Regions from separate parts of the Homo sapiens genome. Here regions 1, 3 and 4 are each linked to region 2. Evidence: promoter capture Hi-C in 16 types of primary human blood cells and fetal thymus (Javierre and others, 2016). All regions are on one chromosome and are shown on one strand. Each heading gives the region's core, a stretch centred on a gene start or on the middle of the fragment in contact. The rest is flanking DNA. Distances are from core to core; before and after follow the strand shown.

Region 1 (3,584 bases), core at 720-3,219, 310 kb before region 2:
ACACCCTACTTCTCAACACAGACACACGGGGGAATCAAATTTCAACATGAGATTTGGTGAAGACAAACAAACCATATCCTAACCATAGCACTTCCCAAGAATGGCATAAGATTTAACTGAGGTAATGTTACTGAAATGCCAGGGGTTCACTCTAGGTCCTTCTGCTTGCCACACAGAAAGCCAATCACTGAGACAATGAGTATGACTAGGGAAGAAGTCTTTAATTAGGTGCTGCAGCCAAGGCAATGGGTGATTGGTCTCAAATCTATCTCCCTGACTAACTAAAATTAGAAGTTTATATAGCAGGGAAGAACTATAACCACGTATGGGAAAACAAGAATTAGTGAGGGGTAAGGAAGAGGAGTTGGTCAACAGGAAGCAGGTGGCTGGCTAGGCACTCATGACAGGTGAGGGGTCTGGTGTTTCACTGTCCAGATGCAGTGATCTGGTAAGTTTCAGTTCCTTGATACTATCTGGGAGGGCTGATGTTTGGTTTTCTGAGAAAGGAACTCAGATAAAATAAATGTTTAGTGCTTCAGTGGAAGTTTATATATATGTAACTTTCCCAAGTTTCAAGACTGGGAGGATGAATTTCTATGTTTATTCAAAAGAAACCATAAACATCAGTTCTAGGGACAATTGGGCTGGCTTCAGTCATGCACATTTAGCCCTTTCCTGTACCCTACATCCCCTCTATTTGAAAGCAGTGGTCCTACACTCAAACAGTCTTCAGGTCCTCACCTCCAACCATGACCTCCCTCTTGTATGTCTTGTCTTTCTAAGGGATCCCCAGTCACCCACCCAAAAAGCTAGTGGCTGTCCAAGGCTCCTCCTTTGCCTTCATCCTCCCGGCTCTGAACAACTCCTGGCCACTGATTCCTGTCTGAGTTAGGAGTTAGATGCATCTGCTCTGAGCTCCCCTGATCTACACGTACTTCACAATGTGCACTTTACCCACACTGGTGAATGCTCAGTAGACTCAGATTGTCTTGCAGGAAGGACTTAGGGTTTTTATCTCTGAATAATGATATTTGTGGAACTAAAGTGAAATAAAAGAATAATAGCTCAATAAACCTCAGTTTGCATTCTCCCTATTATTTCTTTTGCTCAAGATGCTGACTTGTGTGGCTTTTGTGTCTGGCTCTTGCCCTGCCTACATGTAGGACTGGTTTCTGTGGGTATTTCTGGTGAGATCTCAGAAGTATCTCACAAAATCCTATCAGTACACACAATACAGGGAGCACTAAGAAAGCACTGCAATCCCCATCTTACAGGGGAGGACCCTAGTGTACAGGGGCTTTCAAGATCTTCGTGTGAGGTTAAACAGTCAGTGAGAGGCAAGCCTGGGATCAATCCTGGGTGTGGCTGATGCCAGTACCCACACATAACCATTATCATAACTCTATTCCCTCCTCAATAGGTGTGATCAGTTACCCATGGCATCCTCATTTTACACTCCTTCGTCTACTTAAGCTTCCCTTTCCAAGCACTGCTAGTGCTTTTGATTGGTGCTTCTGATGCCTCTCACAAAGCACTGCAGTCCTCAATTTGCCAGAATGGGGCAGATTGTTCTCTCTTGCTCTTTTGTTCATTCAACTTTGTCAGAGGATTATTAAAGCTCCTTGTACCCCTATGTCCCCTAGAAAATTTCATGAAGTGGGCAGAAATTCAGCGGATATGCTCTGGCCTTGGGCACAGCTGGCAGATGCCCTGATGGATTAGGTGCCAAATTGGATAAATTACTGGGTGTGGTGGCTCATGCTTGTACTCCCAGCACTTCGAGAGGCTGAGGCAGGAGGACTGCTGGAGTCCAGGAGATTGAGACCAGCCTGGGCAACATAGTGAGACTTCATCTCTACAAAATAAAATAATTGTCTGGGTATGGTGGCATGTGCCTCCATAAAGGATAAATTGTCTTAATATAAGTTAAACATAACTTAAACATAAATTAAATACAAATGTAATTCCCCATTTATTTAATATTTAAATTAAATATAACATATTAATATATAAACACATGTATTTCGTTTTTGAAATATATATTTATATCCATCCAATGTATATATTTGTTTTGAAGCCTCTTTCTCTTATTTGTTGTTTACTAGTTTTGTTTTGTTTTTTGGTTTTTTTTTTTGAGATGGAGTCTCGCTTTGCCGCCCAGGCTAGAGTGCCGTGGTGCAATCTCAGCTCAGTGCAACCTCCGCCTCCTGGGTTCAAGCAATTCTCCTGCCTCGGCCTCCCAAGTAGCTGGAATTACAGGTGCATGCCACCATGCCCAGCTACTTTTTGTATTTTTAGTAGAAATGGGGTTTCGCCATGTCAGCCACGCTGGTCTCCTGACCACTCCTGGCGCTCCTGATATCAGGTGGTCCGCCCGCCTCGGCCTCCCAAAGTGCTGGAATTTCAGGTGTGAGCCACTGCACCCGGCCTGTTTACTAGTTTTACATTTACTTCCACCCTACTTCTCAAGCTTCTAATCTATAACTAGATCTTAGGAGAATGATCCAGCGGGTGGTTTTACTGACTTCCTGGTTGTAAGACTGTGTCTTTGTCTTCCTACTTGGCTAAATCTTCAACATCCTATAAAGCTGTAGCCCCAGGCAGAAGTTAGGCCACAATTTTACTCAGCCTCCATTTACAAAACTGTGTGGGAGTGTGAAATGACATAGGTACAAGGCTGTTCATTGTGATATTGAGAGTAACAGAGAACATTTATCTGTAAATAGCATGTGTACAGCAAGAGAGGACTCGAGTAAACCACGGTTCACGCACACAATGAACTACACAGAGCTATAAAAAAGAAAGTAAAATCTCCATGTCCTGATATGGAACAATCTTCTGTACATACAGTTAAGCGACAAAAGCAAGGTATAGAACAGTGCATATGGTGTGCTATCTTTTGTGTAAAAGGGTATGCTATCCTTTTAAGAAAGCGAGAGACACCACATGCCTGTGGTCCCAGCTACTTGGGAGGCTGAGGTAGGAGAATCACTTGAGCCCAGGAGTTTGGGCTGCAGTGAGCTATGATTGCGCCTGTGAATGTGAATAGCCACTGCACTCCAGCTTGGGCAACATCATAGAGAGATCCTGTCTCAAAAAAAAAAAAAAGGAAGAGAAATAAGAATATATATAGTTGCGAGAAGAGCCATTGGAAGAATACACAACAAACCAATAAAAATGATTTCCTAAAGAAGAGGGAAAGTGAGACTGGAGTAAACATGAGATTTCTCTGTATCATAAAATGCTATAGTTTGAGTTTTGAATTTTGATTTATGTAATATGTAGATATTAAAATATCTACCAATTACCAAAATAAAAAAAAAAAGAGTGTGTGTACCTGTGTGTAGAGGGCAGGATGCTTCCAAGCCCAGAGCCTAGTTCCAAGCCCATTTTAGCACCTCTTTGTGGTGCTAAAATTCCAAGTACCACTGCCTGCCTCAAGGCAGCTAACCTACTCCTGGTCTGCATTTATGTGCTCTTCCTGGTTTGTGGAAATGATTATTGCTTTTGAGTCTGTTTCTTTTTGGTTTTCTCTTTTTCTATTTCATCTGTCTTGCTGAATATTTGGAGCAGAGGAAATGTTT
Region 2 (3,520 bases), core at 643-3,142:
GTTTCTGGGCTAGGATATTTTGAAACACTTTTGTCTATTAGCTTTATCTAAAATAGCTAAAATATCAGTCTCCATAGAGGCAAAGTAAGTGGCACTGAGAAGCAAAAAATCCAGCCAATGTGCAGTTTTCTCCTCCTGCCCCCTATTTGTGGAAATGAGGCACGGCCCCCATCTTGTCTGCTGGGTGGGGTTCTGTTTACCACGCTTGGCAGCCACCGCCACCCAACAATCTTTCATTTTTCTTTCTAACTTCACTTTGCCCCTACCTTGGTCTCTCCAAGCCGAACACAAATGGACCAGTGAGGAAACTGCAGGTAAAGACCCTGAAAGGTTATATGAGCTCCCTGGTGTGGTGTCTCAAGCCTGAAGCTCAGAGGCTGGAGCTATTGCCCCTGGCTGTCTCCCCTGAAGTCACTAAATTCCAGCGTTCTGGGTCCCCTTGTCCCCAGCACACAAGGATGGGCTGCTCTGAGCAAGCTCAGGCACCCTCACTCTGCCACACTGTGTGTGTGACTTAGACCCCACAAGGCTTTTCTGAGAAAACAGCTGTGACCTGACAGAAACCCCTGCAGCTGCACGGGCCTCAGAATCCCCCGAGGCGCTGGCCCGGGCTGTGCCTGGCTCCCTGGTGGGAGCAGAAGTGCCCATGGCCTCTCCTGCCCTCCCAACAGGGCCCCTAAACAAATTCCCACACCCAGGTGAGTTACCAGGAGCGATCAGGTGGGCCGAGGACATTTGCTTGCTTCACCTTCCCTGTTTCTTTAGATTGAAATTCAGCCTGCCCCACTTCTCAGGAAGATGCCACGAGGCTGATCCCCCTGAGCAGTTTGTCCTGTCCTCTTTTCACTGGTTTTCTTCCTCATTACCTGGGCTAGAAAACATGGTGGAAGCTAAAGGCTTGCAGCAAAGCTGGGCTCCCACGATCGGGAATGAGGTGAGGAGCAAGCACTCTTGTTGGCTGGGCGCTGCTCGTGGTGGTGACTTAACCAGGCACATCGTCTCATCTGCCCCGTGTTCTGTCAATGCCGGGCCCTCTGGCTGGGCTAGATGGCCGCCTAAGGGGCAGGCTGGGGTGAGTCACGGAGCCTGGGATGGTGCGTCACCCGGCAGTCCCAGGCGTGGGTGTGGGGACAGCCATGACAAGGCTGAGCCTAGACACGGACGCTTGGCCATGAGGTGGCGAAGGCGCTGTGGAGGCTGCCACCCGGTGCTTCCTGCCTGTGCCCCTCTCCTCCTTGGTTACCCCACTTACTCCCGGGCCCATTGGAGTGTTTCAGGCCATGACCTTGACTGACCAACAAAATCTTCTTTGTTGGCAAAGGAAGAAAGAAAGGGGCTGAGTGACGGAGCCAGCCAGAGGGTGAAAGAAGCTGAAGGGACTAGAACGTCGCAGCACGAAACATGGCCTGGCTGACATTTTCCGATCCTGTCCAGCTTCTGTGAAACACTCCCTCTCCGTTTCTCTACCCTGGGCCTGCCTCGGTTGCTCTCTTGCTTCCTTCTTCCTTCCTCTCTTATCACTCGAAAAATCTGTACCTGGAGGAGCTGTGTATTCTAGCAGCTGGCTCTGAACTGATGCCCAACTCGGCTGTGACGGAGCAGATGCCAGCACCGGGCCGGACCCCTCACTGCTCACTTGCCCATTGATTTGAGGAGGGCAGGATTTGAAGGAGACCCCAGCCCCTCACCACCCTCCACTACCCACACCCACTCCCCTACACATACACAAAGAGTTTCTAGAAGTTCCCTGCCGTCGACACGTCGGCCCTACCTGTAATCGGCAACTGTGCCTGCAGGATGGCCGCGGTGAAAAGCGCCTTCCACTTCATCTTGTCCTTTCCCTCAGAAAGAGGCTGGGAGGCAGAGGCTGAGGCAGCGGTGGCCGGGACGGTTAGGAGAAAAGGAGTCTCTGCTGGTTTTATTCTGCAGCTACCTCCCCAGGAAGTGGAGGACTGTGGGGCCTTTGAGAAAGCACCTGCCGACAGGGCCAAGAAATTCGCACTCCCCCTTTCGGTTCACAGGCAGGAAGCCCTGGAGGTTTGAGGGTTTGGGGTGTGTGTATGTATCTGTCTGTCTGAATTTTGCTTTTTCTCTCATTTGACCATTGTTTTAATGCTCCTTTTTTTAAAAAAAATAATTCTTATCTAATTCCTATCTTGATTGGTAAAGTCCATCTCTAGGCAAATACAAGTTCTCGATGGATGTAAGAACATTTGCTGTTTTCCTAGACTGTCAAATATTTTATGGTGGCTGGCAAAATGACAGAACCCTGGATTAGAGTCCAGGACAAATGTAGAGACAGATTCCTTGGGCTTTAGTGACATCTCTGCCTACCACCTACTTGCTGTGTGGCGTTGAGTCAGTCACTCAACATCTCTAGACTTCAGCTTCCTTATCTATAAAGCAAAGAGCTGGAGTAGATCTGAGGTTGCAGATCTGAACTTGGCCTGAATTTGGATCATTGTGTGAAATACTGTAGCTCACATAGTATTTTAAACACTTGTGTTAGTTGTCAACATTTAAACACCAGAGTAATTTACAATAATAAAACATTAAAACCTAGACATAAACTTCGTCTAAAAATTGTAATATATCTATATGAAACAAACTTTAAAACATTGCTGAAGAACGCCGAAAGGACTTGGGTAAATGGAAAGGCATACCCTTCTTTGATAGGAAGCTCTCTTTTAAGGAGACCACCATTCTCTCTTAATTAATCAATCTATTTCATTGAAAATACCAACAAAAAGTTTTAGAACAAGTTAAGCTGATTCCAAAATTGATATGAAAAAAATTAATGTACAAGAATAGCCAATAATCCAAAGTCACAGCAATCCAACATAAAATTGATAAATTGGACTTCATCACAATTAAAAGTTTTTGTGCATCAAAGGACACTATGAAGAAAGTGAGTCCTGCAAATCACCGCATACCTCTAAGTGATGGAAACAGCATTCCCATCATCAGACTTGGTACCTACTCAGAGCCTAAATTGACCCCTAAGGGGGCCGATGACTTACTCAAGGCCACACAGCAAGTAGGTGGTAGGTAGAGATGTCACTACAGCCCAAGTAGTCTGTCTCTACATTTAGTCTGAGTCTTCATCAGTGAAGGTTGTCATTGGTCTGGGGTGCTGACACACTGATGAAGCCTACATATACCAAAATGAAGACACAGCTGGGGAGGCCATCAGGGGGAAAATAGCAGAAGGAAAGGTGCAGAGGAAGGATATCTTCTACTGTGGAAAACTGTGGGCTACAAATCACAACCCAGAGCTGGTCTGCCCGAGCCTAGAGAGGATGCTCAAGGTCCTCCAGCTAGATTGTGTGGATCTTTACATCACTGAAATACCCATGGCCGCTAAGCCAGAAGACAAAATCTACCCTATAGGTGAGAATGGCAAATGGTTATATCACAAGTCAAATCTGTGTGCCACTTGGGAGACTTCGGAAGCTTGTAAAGATGCTGGCTTGGTGAAATCCCTCGGAGTATCCAGTTTTAACAGCAGGCCAGCTGGAGC
Region 3 (3,474 bases), core at 363-2,862, 280 kb before region 2:
ATACTTGCTGTTTTTCCCCCATTGCTCTCTATTCTTTAGTTCACTCATTTAAATAAGATAAACATTTTAATGAAATCATATTCTTTGCAGTAACTTGGATGGAGCCAGAAGCCATAATCCTAAGTGAATTAATGCAGGAACAGAAAACCAAAGACTGGTTTGGTCTGTTCTGCTGAGACCTAGTGGAGGAGGCTAGTCCAAAATAGTAGTCTCCCATAAACTTTCTTTAACAGAATATACACACTTAAAAATTTTGTACATGTCGTCAGGTTGCTTTTAGTACCACTCTATATTTTTTATCTACAGTATTTAATAGTGTCAGTTTCTCCTGCACTGTTAACTATTAGTCTTTTAAATTTTTCCTAGGTTGATGAAAAACACTTCATTGCTTTAATTTTAATGTTTTTACTCTAATTTGGACATCTTTTTTTTTTTAGACAGACGATTGCTCTGTCTCCCAGGCTGGAGTGCAGTGGTGTGATCTCGGCTCCCTGCAGCCTCCACCTCCCAGGTTCAAGCAATTCTCTGCCTCAGCCTCCTGAGGAGCTGGGATTACAGGCGCCTGCCACCATGCCTGGCCAATTTTTGTATTTTTAGTAGAGATGGAGTTTCACCATCTTGGCCAGGCAGGTGTTGAACTCCTGACCTCATGATCCACCTGCCTTGGCCTCCCAAAGTGCTGGGATTACAGACATGAGCCACCGCGCCCGGCCGACATCTTCTTATTAAATTTTTATTAAATTAAATCTTACTAAATTTTATTAAATATAAAATCTTTTATCATTAGTTTTCAAATGTACAACAATGATTTATTTTTCCTGTTTTGGCCGTTTCAGAATACTTGTAGTTTTCCTGAAAATTTATGACTTCTTAAATATTCTCTTTCGACGTGTGCCTGCCCCACCTCCTTCCCCGCAGCTAATTCCTATACCTCTTTGGAGAAGTAGCTTAGGGATGCAGGTGGAGCTTGGATCAGTCTACCTGTTAGTCACATGCTTTACTTGCATCCCACTATTAGCTGTTCATTTATAGAAAGGGGATGGTTGCAGAGTCTGGGCAGGGATGGGTCAGCTGTGGCACTGTGGTCCTGGAGAGTCATACCCTACTCTTGGACAAAAATGTTTCTCTTAGCAGAGAACTGGAGTGAGCATATTTTTTTTACTCTGCTTTCTCTAAAGGCAATTTTAATTTTTAAGTCAAATATATGGGAGGTAGGGATAAAGGAGAAATGGAAAGATAATAGAGTTTTAGCAGTCTAGGGGTCTATTTCCTACACAAGGGCTTGGAAATGATAAGACTAATCCTGAAATATTTTCAGTGCTGGATTTCACCTAACCTCCTAGCAAGCTTGGAGTTCTCTGGGACTTGGGGAGCAAGAAATTTAAGGAAGCTGACAATAAGGAGGAAGGTATCTAACTTCTGAGTAGAGATGGCTTGATGGTGATGATACTTGTGAACTAGGGTTAACATACAGCAGTGACAGCATTGTAAAGTCTGTCAGTGGTGAGAAAAGATGACAGTGACCTTGAAGGAGAGAGGCTATCTAACGAGAACATACTTATGCGTGTTGGGGAGTGTAAACGCCTACCTAGACTTTCTGCTGGGTTATTTAGAATGTTGAGAAGTTAATAGATTCATATTGTTGCATGCATAAGTTTTTGTCCTACTATTTGGGATGGATGAGGAAAGAGCTCAGAAAAGAAACAGGTTACAGTAACAGCCCTGTTGGTCTTGTTTGTTGTTTTTCCGGTACCCTTTGGCCATTTTTATCAAGTAATTTTTGTATTTTCTTTTTCATCTGCCGGTATGTTATTTTTACCATTTTGAGTGATGTCTGTGGAATAAGAAATGTTTGTAAATATTTTGTGACTTACATGGTAAGCTTGACTAGGTTTACACAAAGTCATTTTGTACTACCATTTGTCTGATTTCTACAAATACATTATTTGGGGGTATTCTTTAATTTTTCTTTCCCCTTTTGTCCTTAATTCCTCTTCCCCTGTTCCTCCAGTTAATTGAGTTACTGGTTTTATTTTTTAAATCCATATATGTGTGTGTGTATATATATATATATATATATATATATTTTTTTTTTTTTTTTTTTTTTTTTTTGGCAGAGTGTTGCTCTGTCGCCCAGGCAGGAGTGCAGTGGCGTGATCTCGGCTCACTTCAGCTTCCACCTCCAGGGTTCAAGCGATTCTCCTGCTTCAGCCTCCCGAGTAGCTGGGATTACAAGTGCGTGCCACCGCACCCGGCTAATTTTTTTGTATTCTTAGTACAGATGGGGTTTCACTGTGTTGGCCAGGCTGGTCTCTAACTCCTGACCTGAAGTGATCTGCCCGCCTTGGTCTCCCAAAGTGCCGGGATTACAGGTGTGAGCCACCATGCCCAGCCCATATATTCTTAATTTCTTGAGTAAGCCCTTGATTTCTCATGTGACCTTTTTTCTGATCCCTTAAATTAAAAAATTTTTTTGAGATGCATTAATGTAAATTTTATCCATTTATTTATTTGTTTCATTTTGTCTCTCAAGTTGGTTTATAGAGATTTATCAACTGTATGGCAAGAAATGCAAAATAAAAATATAAAAGACCTAATATAAAAATCTAATATTTATTTCCGGTGGGGCCCAAATACTCTGTAAACTTCTTAGTAGATGATGCAAACAAGGAAAACTTGGTCAATTTATGCCCATAAAATTTGAAAACAAACAAACTTTTAAGAAAAGCACAACAATTCCTGGTACTAAGATCAGAAGGAAACTTCTCTTCAGAGGCCTTATAAACAGGACCCTATGTAATGTAATAAACAGTGCCCTCAACAGTCTTCCTACTGTGGACACACCAACAAATTTCAGAATGCCCCTGTATAGGCCAAATGCATCATACCAGAGCACCTTCATTAAGGCAGTTAATTGGTGGGAGATGAGGATATTGAGTGAGGACTATTCAAAATGGTCTGACTTAAAAAGGGAAAAGATTTTGGAATAATTAGAAGAATGGAGATACTGCATATTCTTTAGGCAATCTTCCATAAATACCTGTTTTGTTCACAGTTAGTACAAGGTTACTGGCATAGGGTAGGTTATCAAGAAATGTTTTCAGAGTAAATACTGGGTTGCATTGGGTTTGAAATTACATTTGTTGGTGCACATCATTGAAGGTAGAGTGATAAGATTTTCATGTTGTTCAGGGAGACTAGTTGGCTACTCAGATGGGTGGCTAGAGTGTACTTTGCCCTAAACAGTGCAGGGCACATCCTGAAAAGTTTTGTTCTCTAGGCTCCCCTTTCCTATTCTGAATCCAGGCACACACTCTAAAAATCTTTAACCTTTAATCTTTTCTCCACCATTCTTTTTTGTGTATGGTGTAAGGTGTAACCCTGACAAACTTTTTTTCCCCCCCAAATGGACAGCCAACTGTCCTAACACTACCTATCCCTTCTACCAAAAATGTCAGTTTCAGTCATTCAGTC
Region 4 (3,496 bases), core at 309-2,808, 260 kb before region 2:
TTGTGCCTACAAAACAGCAGTCACCACTAAAATACTTATTTGAAATATTTTAAAGTGCTGAGATTACATGCGTGAGCCACCGCGCCCGGCCTGAATCTGTTTTTAATGTTAATTTTTTATTTTTCTCACTGAAGGGGAACCAGCGCCCTATTAAACTCCATTGTTGGTAATTTGAGAACACAAACCAATTAATATCTATATTCTGAATAATTATATAGTTAAGGTGCAGCTTTTATTATATCTGGCTTTTTACTTTGTTGCAAACTCCAAACCAAAGAATGTTCATAACTGTCCTACAGCAGTGAAATGAATTAAAGTAATTCTGGTCATTAGAAAATCTTTAAATTATTTTAAGAATACGTAACTGACTGTGATAACTTCTTGTTTATAACAGGTTAACATGGATGACTAGTTTATAGCTTTTGATCTTATGTGTAATGACACTGGGAAGAAAACATGTATCCCTCTAAGGTAGCATTTCTGTTATTTCTATGCCCAAAGACTGTGCTGACCGCCATTTTGCCAGAAGCTTTGAACACTGTTGACTGATTGATGTGTACATCTAATTCAGATTTACATAATCTAATTGGACCCTTGGGTTCTTAAAAAATGGCCTTCTTTTATCACCATATGTGTTCATTACAATGCATATTTTAAAATGAGATGGCCCAAAGAGCATGCTATGATGAATTTACTGTTGAAATACTTGTGAAACTTGGATAAACCTAATTATCAAGGGACAGTTTCACTTAAGAGGGCAAAAGTTTCACTTCAAAGAAAAGCCTACTGCTCTTGCTTTTAATGGTTTGAATTATGTTTTTATCTTTCATCAGCCCAAGAGTTTGTACTTCAGGGTCAGAAACAAAACTTGGAGCCTCTGTGAATCCTGTAATCATTTACTAACTCTCTTGTAGAACAAGATGTCATTTTTTCCTACTATTCTGTTTCATTCTTTATTTTTCTGCCCCCCCCCCCCCAAACACACAGGAGAGTGGAACTTGGGATTATAATTGGTTAATGGGTTTTTTGGGTTTTTTTGGTCTTACTCTGTCACCCGGGCTGGAGTGCAGTGGTGCTATCTTGGCTCACTGCAACCTGTGCCTCTCAGGCTCAGGCGATCTTCCCACCTCAGCCTCCTGAATAGCTGGGACCACAGGTGCCTGCCACCACGCCTGGTTAATTTTTTGTATTTTTGGTAGAGACAGGGTTTCACCATGTTGCCCAGGCTGGTCTCAAATTCTTGAGCTCAAGTGATCCGCCGGCCTTGACCTCCCAAAGTGCTGGGATTATAAGCCTGAGCCACCACGTCCAGCCAGAATTTTTTATTTTTTAAGAAAGAAAGTTTATCTTAGGTCCTCCTTCCCCCATACCCCATTTTAATTTGGTGCCAGGTTTGCCTGTCTCTGTGGAGAAAAGAATAGAAATGTTGGCTGAGGGAAAGTTTTTATGTCTCCTCTAATACGTATTTCATTTTTTTCTATTTGCTCCTTGCTTTTCTAATACAGGTAGGATAAAGAGGCAACTTCAGGAATACCCAGACTTTAGCTCCATCTAGGAATTTTTATTGGTTTGTTTTTTGACTAGAGTGTAGAATGGAAGCTCTTTTGGCTGGGTTGGGTCCTTGGGCAAAATATTTCAGACTCCTGTATTATATGGTGAATTAAATTGCTTCACTGGCACTTTTTCTTTTTTAAAGCCTGTTCACACTTTATACAGTTTTTGAAGAGGAAAACTTTGGATAGTGCTCTTTCAAACCAGGCAAATGCCTCGGTTTCTTTTAAAAAATCTTTGTAAAATAATAATATTAGTCTGACTTAAAGGTTATGATGGAATACATATAAAACATTTGGGAGTCTCAATTCTATTTAATGTAGGTTCGATCAATGTTACTAATGTGCTTTAGCTGCAATATATTAATATTTGTTTCTTAGCATCCTGAGGCTAGCCACTTGCCTCTTGTTCACCTTACTAGTACAACTAAACTAGTGTCTGGCCCTGAAGGTGGGCAGAAAATATTCATTAAATTGAATTTTGATGTAGGGATAATTCTGTTTCTTTGTGTCTTGCCTAAGTTTAATTCATGTCATAGTCATGTTTCACATGTATCTTAATTCTTACTGCATAAAATGTTCATGCAAAAGGCAGTATTAATTTTACTCATTGTTAACAATCAGCAAGTACTATTCAGAGTCTGACTCATAACCATAGAGTATCTTGATGCTATAATCAGAAACATTTATTATCCCTGGCTTTAGCAGTTGAACTTACAGGATAATGTTTAGTTCTCATTATCAGAGAAAAAGGTGATTCAGGTAATTTCTTCATTTGTTCGTTTCTCTATCCCTCTACCCCAGTGTCTTGAAAAAATATTTAGCTAGAATGCTCAAAAATGGTGTGTTAGCATTCATTTTCTTCCATTAGGTGATTTTTGTTGACTATCATTAATAGCAATATGTAAGACTTACTATTCATTTGCCTATTTATTCATTCTACAACATTTATTGTTTTTCTACTGCCAGGAACAATTTGAAGTGCTGGATATATTTAGTGGGAATTGGTTTTCTTAGGCAGATTATCATCTGTTTGTGAAGCTTTTTCACAGTGTACGTGCCTGGCCCCAAATCTAGGAGATTCTTGTTTGGTATATTTGGTGTGGTGTAAGTTCAGGCATCTGTATTTTTACAGAGCTTTTCAAATGACTCTAATGCACGTTTGCTTTTGAGTACCATAGGAATAAAACAAGTCTCATTCAATAGGTACTCAAAATAGGTAAATGCAGTAAAGTTTCATAGATGCTGTAAGAGAAACTGTTGGTATAGTGTGGGCACAAAGCAAGAAGTCCTACTAGGTACCTCAGGAAAGGTTTCCTAAGAATAGAAATGCCTAGCTGAATCTTGTTCTCCTAAGTGTTTTAGAGTAGGTGGAACCCATGAATCTATAGATTAGCCTAAGTAAATTCCAGTATGCAGGGCAATGTGAACAAAAAGAGAGAGGTGTGAAACAGCTTACAGCATTTTGGAAATTGCAAGTAGTTGGCATGATTGAATTACTAGATGAGGATGGTTAAAAATAAGATAGTTTTTATGGTGCTGAAAACAAGCATACATTAAAGAATATGAAGAAAGGAGAATAAGAGTAGACTTGAACTTTAGAAAGATGACAGTGATGGTATGAAGCATAGATTGGAGTGGTATGAGAATGGAGGTAGGGAAATGGGTTGACATAGCCACAAGAATCCATACAAGAGCAATTCAGAGGCCTCAACTAAAGGAGTCGCAGTTGGAGAGGAAGAGGATTGGAAAAAAGAACCATAAGGAGGTGGAATCTTTGAGAATCGGTGACTGACTGGATTTAGGAGACAAGAAAGACGAAGTAATTTCTCACCTATATGAAGAATATGGTTGATGTGCCAAACATCAAGGTGAGGGTTTTAAGGGGATGATTAGGTTTTAAAAGAAGATAATGCAGATGGGAGGAGGAAATGGGAACAGGGAGG

Evidence for each region. Contacts are between HindIII fragments. The CHiCAGO score rates a contact against its expected background, and 5 or more counts as called.
Region 1: a fragment that was not itself captured here is called in contact with the fragment with the promoter of CD247 in region 2 in 1 of 17 cell types (fetal thymus); the score reaches 5.1 in fetal thymus.
Region 3: a fragment that was not itself captured here is called in contact with the fragment with the promoter of CD247 in region 2 in 6 of 17 cell types (naive CD4 T cells, fetal thymus, activated CD4 T cells and 3 more); the score reaches 7.1 in naive CD4 T cells.
Region 4: a fragment that was not itself captured here is called in contact with the fragment with the promoter of CD247 in region 2 in 6 of 17 cell types (fetal thymus, naive CD4 T cells, naive B cells and 3 more); the score reaches 6.9 in fetal thymus.

What each region holds. Positions count from the first base shown.
Region 1 is chr1:167,208,819-167,212,402 of GRCh38, forward strand. No RefSeq gene overlaps it. Among named protein-coding and RNA genes, the nearest start is that of POU2F1-DT, 9.9 kb to the right of the region's middle. The HindIII fragment of the contact is 997 bases long and covers 1,472-2,468 here.
Region 2 is chr1:167,516,637-167,520,156 of GRCh38, forward strand. CD247 (CD247 molecule) reads right to left here and starts at 1,893. Exons shown (of 8, transcript NM_198053.3): 1 at 1,772-1,893. The coding sequence starts at 1,829. It also overlaps the pseudogene AKR1D1P1. RefSeq lists enhancers at 290-1,253, 525-1,724. The HindIII fragment of the contact is 3,961 bases long and covers 1-3,451 here.
Region 3 is chr1:167,235,688-167,239,161 of GRCh38, forward strand. The region is part of intron 1 of POU2F1 (POU class 2 homeobox 1); the gene reads left to right. Among named protein-coding and RNA genes, the nearest start is that of POU2F1, 17 kb to the left of the region's middle. The HindIII fragment of the contact is 535 bases long and covers 1,346-1,880 here.
Region 4 is chr1:167,252,413-167,255,908 of GRCh38, forward strand. The region is part of intron 1 of POU2F1 (POU class 2 homeobox 1); the gene reads left to right. LOC124900412 (a long non-coding RNA gene) reads left to right here. Exons shown (of 2, transcript XR_007066718.1): 1 at 1-3,421. Among named protein-coding and RNA genes, the nearest start is that of POU2F1, 33 kb to the left of the region's middle. The HindIII fragment of the contact is 2,062 bases long and covers 528-2,589 here.